Linked DNA regions of Homo sapiens: region 2 is linked to region 1. The links are contacts of gene promoters, found by promoter capture Hi-C in human tissues and cell types (Jung and others, 2019). All regions are on one chromosome and are shown on one strand. Each heading gives the region's core, a stretch centred on a gene start or on the middle of the fragment in contact. The rest is flanking DNA. Distances are from core to core; before and after follow the strand shown. Region 1 holds the start of KLRF2 (killer cell lectin like receptor F2). Region 2 has its middle 6.9 kb from the start of CLECL1.

What was found. Contacts are between HindIII fragments. The study calls those that stand out against the background at their distance.
Region 2: a fragment that was not itself captured here is called in contact with the fragment with the promoter of KLRF2 in region 1 in 1 of the 25 tissues and cell types used here (spleen).

What each region holds. Positions count from the first base shown.
Region 1 is chr12:9,878,982-9,883,200 of GRCh38, forward strand. It overlaps KLRF2 (killer cell lectin like receptor F2), which reads left to right and starts at 2,508. Exons shown (of 6, transcript NM_001190765.1): 1 at 2,508-2,684. The coding sequence starts at 2,615. It also overlaps a transcript of CLEC2A not described here. The HindIII fragment of the contact is 4,749 bases long and covers 432-4,219 here.
Region 2 is chr12:9,737,914-9,742,132 of GRCh38, forward strand. No RefSeq gene overlaps it. Among named protein-coding and RNA genes, the nearest start is that of CLECL1, 6.9 kb to the left of the region's middle. RefSeq lists a cis regulatory region at 2,526-2,778. The HindIII fragment of the contact is 3,083 bases long and covers 515-3,597 here.

The DNA.
Region 1 (4,219 bases), core at 1,258-3,757:
GAGATGCTACAGCGGAATCAGGCTTTCTGATATCAACGGCAATAATTTGATTCTAGAGGTCAAGGGGTTGCAGTTGCCACAATAAGCCAGAGGGAATGATTAGTAATCAGAGTTTTCATCCACAGAAATCTGTGACAATGATTAGCTGATTTTAAGTTTTGGGAAATGAAAAAAAAAGAAAAGAAAAGAAAAACAAACAAAAAAGGATATTTCACTAAGGAGCTGCTTGATATGCTAAGGAAAATTACATGTATGTTGCCCAGAAACTTAGCCCGTATTTTCAGAGAGGAGATTCATTGTGTCTTACCCAATCCCCAGACTTCCATATAGTTAGTAGGCAAAGCTCTTCGCAGACCAGGAACCACTCAACTGGGGAGGAGGTAGGTTTGGTCTCTTGGTGAAGGACATTGTAACATGGCCACAGGTGTAATTATGATATTTATTCCCCAACACCTAAACCGGAGGAAACTTCAGTCATTTTCTTGAATGACTATACACTGGGAAAAAGCTGAGAACCTGTGATGGTTTCCGGCTTGTATTTACAAACAGAAATAACAAGTATTTCTTTGCTGCCTTGCCCAGGTGTATGTCAGCTCTCCTGATCTCTGTTATAAGATGGCCCAGAGGGAACTAAATCATCTTGATATAGCTCCCAATATGTTATACCTCAGAACTGGTTGCACACAATAGATTCATTACATTGATGCTATCATGCCAACTGTTCCTGGTGAAAAGTAGGCAGTAAACCTACTACATATTTTTATAAGACATATGTTCACCACCATTAACTTGATCCAACTTGACCACTTTGACCCAATGAACCCTATGTTTAGAAGTGCACAGAAGCATTTTATCACAAACATAATTGTGCCATTTTGGAGGCAAGGCCTGAACAGTTCCAAAGAAGCACAGTAAACTGCATGAGCAGATGGCTCAGACTCCGATGGCACATGTTCGCATTCCTTTGCTATCTCCACCTCAACCATACCTATGACCCGGGTTGGGGATGGAAAAGAGGGTTCTGTACGATCTTACACTGAAGTAGTTGAAAAAAATAAGTTTATCAGTGGTTATGTAAAATACGGCAGCTGGAATAGATGCCACACTACAGTCCCATTCAGGAGAAGACTGTGAAAGACAGAAGTGAAGGTAAGTCTTCCCACTGAACAGAAGTTTGGACAATATGTCTGGTTGTGAACCTAACAGGAAGGATAAGCACTCAGAGAAATACATCTAAATCATCTTATCAGAAACTAATAGGTGAGATGACTTGTCGGAAACTCAAAAAGAACAAAATAGAAAAATGAATGAGAAGCTAAGAGGTACATATAGAGATCATGCAGAATGGACGCGGCGTGTGTAAATATTCATTCCCATGTAAATACTCACAAGTGACATCCAGTGTTGAGGAGGAGACTCAATAATCAGGTGAACACAACATGTGCTGTGGGAAACAGTCAGCCACCTTCCCCAGACACTCGGTGTTAAATCAATGGATTGATATTGAGTGGCCACGTAGCAGAAACAGAACCATTAGCATGTGTGTGTGTGTGTGTGTGTGTGTGCGTGTTAAGTGAAATATATATAAAATAAGGAATGTGATTATGGAGGCTGGTAAGTCAAAATTCTGCAAATGAGCATGGACAGACTGGGTACCTAGGAAGGCTCAATTCAAATGCAAAGTCCACCGTCTGTAGAATCAGGAGGAGCTAATGCTGCAGATAGTCTGAAGGCCATTGCTGGAGAATTCTCTCTCACTCAGGGAAGACAAGTCTTTTTGTTCTATTCAAGGCTCCAACTGACTCAATAAGGCCCAGTCACATTACAGAGGAGGCAAATCTGCCTTACTCAAAGGTCACCTATTTAAATATGAATCCCATCCAAAAACACCCTCACAGAAATAAGCAGAATGATGTCTGATCAACTATCTGGACTCTCTGTGACTCAGCCAAGTTGACACAAAATAAACTGCCACACCTACTGAAGGAAAATCTGCCTGGCGTTTTCTGAAAAACAAACAAACAAACAAAAAAGTTTAAAAAGTTAAATTCTTTGCAAGTGATTCCGATTTTCACTAACTTGAGACTTGCTGATCTTTTATTTTCCTATTTTTGTCCCATCTAACCATCGTTATTTGGACTCTACTAGTCAAATATGTCCCAAATAACAAAATTGCTATTTTAACTTTTTTAATTTGAATTTTTATTTACCTAGACATTTGTTCTGTTTGTTTAGAGATTATTTGTTTTATTTTATTTTTTCTCTTACTTTATTATAAAAGACATGAAGGAAGGAATTATGTTTCTAATACACCGCACACAAGTGGCAGGAACACACAAGTCCATTTGTTGAAAACAGTGGAACACACTAGCTACCTTTACCTTGAAATTCACAGAATTGTAGCCAGATATTAACAAGCTTATATCCATTTTCATTTACCAACACATCCTGTGTGGTTTTAGACATCTGTGTCTGAGTAAATTTTGACTATTTTTGGCCTTCCTTTTAGTTTTCTTTTAGTACCTTGTGCCAAAGAGACATATCCAAGGTTGAGATTAGTTTCCATTTTCTTTGTACTATTTTCTGGATAATAAGACATTAGACATTTGAAGAGATGGAGAATGAAGATGGGTATATGACGCTGAGTTTCAAGAATCGTTGTAAATCGAAGCAGAAATCTAAAGGTAGGAATACTGCTCCCCATCACCGCATTTAAAATTTCATTATTCTTCTAGGAAGAGAATTATCTTAGAATATTTTTAACATCTTAACATTGATCATAATAAGGAATATAAAAATGGTCATAAATTGTCTGTTAGATTATTTAGATTCATGAAAGCATCAACAATAAAAAGTCTGCATTTTCAGAGCCATGAGGTAAGAGAAATGCGAATATGACGATGTGTAATCCTGTGTGTTGTAGCATAAGAACATCACTTTCGAAGAAAAGGCTGAAAAATTGTGTTTTTACAGAAACTTCCTCCTACAAAACTTAAAGTTTATATAAACTTAAAGCGTATATATATGCTTATATATATATTTATGCTTATACATATATAATATTTTTAATCTTCGTAAAAGCCCTATAGGATTGGTAGAACAATCTACTGGGAATGCGAGAAGAGAGAAAAAAAAACAAAAAAACATTAATCTTTGCTCCTTAGGGCTGCTCTGTGGTTGGCTTTGTTTGCTTTTTCAGGAATTTTGAAAACAATCTTGTTGAAATAGCCAAGACCTAAGTTAAGATGACATAGGCCAGAAATTCAGAATTACCAGTCGCAGTGGCAGTTCTGCCATATGTATTGAACATTCTCGTGTACAATCTCATTTTATATCTAGCAAATGCAAACTTCCCCTGCACCCCCTGCCCCCACAAAATGACACTTTTGTTATTATCTGAAGACTCAGATCTTTTTTGTGTTTCAATATCATGAAACAAATGTTTACTTTTTCAATAGTAACTTACTTCCATGCAGCAAAAACTAGTACCATTGGTGTTAAATTGACTGAGGCAGACCAGGCACGGTGGCTCATGCCTGTAATCCCAGCACTTTGGGATGCAGAGGTGGGCGGGTCACCTGAGGTCAGGAATTCGAGACCAGCCTGGCCAACATGGTGAAACCCCGTCTCTACTAAAAATACAAAAAAAATTAGCTGGGTATGGTGGCGTGTGCCTGTAATCCCAACTACTTGGGAGGCTGAGGCAGGAGAATCGCTTGAACCCGGGAGACGGAGGTTGCAGTCAGCTGAGATCATGCCACTGCACTCCAGCCTGAGTGACAGAGCAAGACTCCATATATAAAAAAACAAAAAAAATTATTCAGACCCTAAAGCCCACAGACTAAATGTATGGCTCTGGGCAGAAGCTTTTAGCCTTCTTAAATCTCAATACTTTGATATATAATAAGAAAAATCTACCTGATGATGCTTTTATGTGGATGTTAAACTAAATTTACTATTTTTTAATCTATAAACTACTTTTTAATATACAAATGTGTACAGAGACTTAAAATCTGAGTATTGATACATAAAATATAAGATAATATCCATTTAAATTATGAATGAAGGAAGGATAGGGCTGGGAAAATAAATTGGGCCAGAAAAATTACTGTAGGCATGTTTGTGCTTGCTATACATTTGCTTCCAAGCTTCCTTGTTATTACTGACCTAAGGGAATTCTTACCAGTTGTTCAGTTCACATTGTGTATAAGATAAAGTT
Region 2 (4,219 bases), core at 806-3,305, 140 kb before region 1:
AGGAAATTTCTCAAGTTTTTCCTCCACCCATTTTATAGAATTTGTTTTTTTATTTTCTTATAATTTTAATTTTCAAGGATTATTTCTTGTTGTGATCTTTTTTATAGTTTACTCTTTTTGTTTAAGTGATATACTATTTTCTTTCCCCACACCTGAGATTATGAATTATAAGAATATTTTAAGTCTTTCTTTCATTTTTACGATCAATTCTAATTTGAACTTCATCTTATGTGTACTTGTTTTGATCTTTTTTTTTTTTTTTTTGAGACGGAGTTCTGCTGTGTTGCCCAGGGTGAAGTGCAGTGACAAAATCTCGGCTCACTGCAACCTCCACCTCCCAGGTTCAAGTCAAGCGATTCTCCTGCCTCAGCCTCCCAAGTAGCTGGGATTACAAGCACGTGCCACCACACCCAGCTAATTTCTTTGTATGTTTAGTGGAGATGGGGTTTCACCATCTTGGCCAGGCTGGTCTCGAACTCCTGGCCTCAGGTGATCCGCCTGCCTCAGCCCCCCAAAGTGCTGGGATTCAGGTGTGAGCCATCGGGCCCGGCCTGATCTCTTACTTTTATTGGAGACTTTTCTAAATATCTAGTAGTCCTTAAGTGTCTAACAGCATGCAAGACTGAGGTACTAAATAAGCGAAGGGAATTTCTGTGTCTGGGATCAGTGGACATCACTGGATGTTCAGGCAGAAGTTATTTATTTCTTCTTAATCTCAATATTTGTAGGTCTTTATTATGAAGCAGGTCAGTTTTTTCAAAGAGAAATTCTCCAATTTTCTTCTTGGGTGCCTTAAGCCTGATTGTCGAGGATATTGAAGTCAATTAGGAGATGTCAAACTGTGTCCGGACTTGGTGGGTTCTTGGTCTCACTGACTTCAAGAACGAAGCCGTGGACCCTCGCAGTGAGTGTTACAGCTGTTAAGGTGGCGCCTCTGGAGTTTGTTCCTTCTGGCGTTCGGATGTGTTCGGAGTTTCTTTCTTCTGGTGGGTTCGGGGTCTCGCTGGCTCAGGAGTGAAGCTGCAGAACCTCAAGGTGAGTGTTACAGCTCCTAAGGCAGCGCGTCTGGAGTTGTTAGTTCCTCCCGGTGGGCTCCTGGTCTCGCTGGCTTCAGGAGTGAAGCTGCAGATGTTCGCGGTGAGTGTTACAGCTCACATAAGCAGTGCGGACCCAAAGAGTGAGCGGTAGCAAGATTTATTGCACAGAACAGAAGAACAAAGCTTCCACAGCGTGACCGAGCGGGCTGCCACTGCTGGCTTGGGCAGCCTGCTTTTATTCTCTTATCTGGCCCCCACCCACATCCTGCTGATTGGTAGAGCCCAGTGGTCTGTTTTGACAGGGTGCTGATTGGTGCGTTTACAATCCCTGAGCTAGACACAAAGGTTCTCCACATCCCCACCAGATTAGCTAGATACGGAGTGTCCACACAAACGTTCTCCAAGGCCCCACCAGAGTAGCTAGATACAGAGTGTCGATTGGTGCATTCACAAACCCTGAGCTAGATACAGAGTGCCTATTGGTGTATTTACAATCCCTGAGCTAGACATAAAGGTTCTCCACGTCCCCACCAGACTCAGGAGCCCAGCTGGCTTCACCCGGTGGATCCCACACCGGGGCTGCAGGTAGAGCTGCCTGCCAGTCCCATGCTCTGCGCCCGCACTCCTCAGCGAGTCGTCCTCAGTGGTCGATGGGACTGGGCGCCGTGAAGCAGGGGGCGGCGCTCATCGGGGAGGCTCCGGCCGCACAGGAGCCCACGGAGAGGGTGGGAGGCTCAGGCATGGCGGGCTGCAGGTCCCGAGCCCTGCCCCGCGGGAAGGCAGCTAAGGCCCGGCGAGAAATCGAGCGCAGCGCCGGTGGGCTGGCACTGCTGGGGGGCCCAGTACACCCTCCGCAGCCGCTGGCCCGGGTGCTAAGCCCCTCATTGCCCCGGGCCGGCAGGGCCTGCCGGCTGCTCCGAGTGCGGAGCCCGCCAAGCCCACGCCTACCCGGAACTCCAGCTGGCCCGCAAGCGCCGCGCGCAGCCCCGGTTCCCGCCCGCGCCCCTCCCTCCCACACCTCCCTGCAAGCTGAGGGAGCCGGCTCCGGCCTTGGCCAGCCCAGCAAGGGGCTCCCACAGTGCAGCGGTGGGCTGAAGTGCTCCTCAAGTGCCACCAAAGTGGGAGCCCCGGCAGAGGAGGCGCCGAGAGCGAGCGAGGGCTGTGACGACTGCCAGCACGCTGTCACCTCTCAAAAGCAAGTCTGTTATTCAGAATTTCAATTAATTCCTCTGTCTTTAGTAAAGCACGTCCTCCCTTAGCCTTGCCTAGAGACTCTTACTCTGAATTCAGGCTCCTTTTGGTTCAGTAATGCCAGGCAATAAACTTCCAATCTTCAGTAGACATACAGGGTTGCCGTTTGGTTGTTCAAGGGGCTCCTTGTATATATTTTCTACTAATTCCCCAGTTTTCCCCCATATTGAACCCATACGGTATTAGTTTTTTATTGCTAAATAACAAATTACCTTAAGCTTTGTGGTTTAAAACAATGCACATTTGTTATCTCATAATTTCTGTATGCCAGGAGTGTAGGCATGGCTTGGGTAGGTGCTACGCTTCAGAGACTCACAAGGCTGCAGTGAAGGTGTTGGCTGTGGCTCTCATCTCCTCTGAGGCTCATCTGGGGAAGGATCTGCTTCTAGGCTCACATGGTTGCTGGCAGCATTCACTTCCTTGTGGGCCATCAACTGAGGGCCTGAGTTTCTTGATGGCTACTAGCCAGAGGTAGCCCTCAGTTTCTTGCTGTAAGGACTTTCCCGACATGGCACCTTGCTTTCTCAAAGCCAGCCATGAAAAGAGTCCCCTCTGGCAGACAGTTATTATAATCTTAGGCACATTCCATTCCATTCATGTAATCATGCATATACCATTACCTTTGCTGTATTGTATTGATTAGAGGCAAATCACAAGTCCTATCCACATTCAAAGAGAGGAGATCACACAAGAGCTTGAAGACCAGAACACGGGGATGATGGGAGCCACCATAGAGTCTGTGGTGCATAGGGTCTCTGATGCTTTAGCGTCCAGGGAACTATGGCCTAAGTTACTGAACATAGTCCAAACTTTGTAGACATTTCTCATCTATGCCTAGTTGCTCCCAATCATTTTTTATTCTATTAAATGTTTTTATTAATATAATTTTTACTGAGACTTTAGAGAAAGCAGAAACAAATACATCTGTTGAATATTACAAATGTACCTGAAAGTACCCTATTGAATTTTTAGGTAGCCTTTGTTAGTTTGAGAATTAAAACAAAAAAACTTCACATCTATGAGAAAAAAAATCAGATATATTACTTTTAATGTTTTATTGAGTTTTCTTAAAGAGCAACCTAATTTAGAATATTAATCAATGAGTTTTCAAGGCCACTTGATATATACATGCCAAAAAGTTTCCATTCAGAGAAACATCGGGTTAGATTTGTATTAATAGATTAATTTTTATGAAATTTCATACAAAATTTATAAGATTTATATTGAATGTGTTAATTTATGTGGAAATATTCATATGAAAGTAGCAATCTTAATTTACACTAAACTTATAAATACAGTTTGATGATTTGATTAGCTAAAAGCTAACATTTACTAAGAACATTGTGTGTGTCAGGTATTGGCTCATTTAAGTCTTCTGGTATCACAACTGTAGGAGCTAGGCACCTTTATTATCCCATTTAAGTGCTGATGAGGAAAACAAGGTACTTCACTCAAAGTCACACAGAAGGATAGGAGTTGAGCAGAAATTTGAAACCAGATTACTTGACACCAAAGCCTATAAATACAATGGTTAAACTATATTGCTTTCCCTGAAACTGGAAGTTGAGATTAAAAATGATGTCCTCCCTTCAGGGAGCTGATTTTCTAGTATGTCAATAAGTAAGTAATTTACTGACAATTGATATACAAAACAAAAATGCCCCAACAGAGCACGCATGAGATTTTACCGCAGCCCACAGGTGCATCAGAGAGGAAGTGCCACTTGAAATAAGATGTTACATTGACATAAATAAGCATTTAGTTTTACTAAGAAACAGAGATGATGAATCAGTGGTCTAACCACACTGAAATGGGCGGTGAAGAAGCATTTTCAGGTTTTGCAGCAATTTGTGTTAGGCTGGTTTGTCTTTGTCATTCTAGGGTTTTAAAAAACTTCATACAAATGGAATCACACAATCTCGTGATCATTT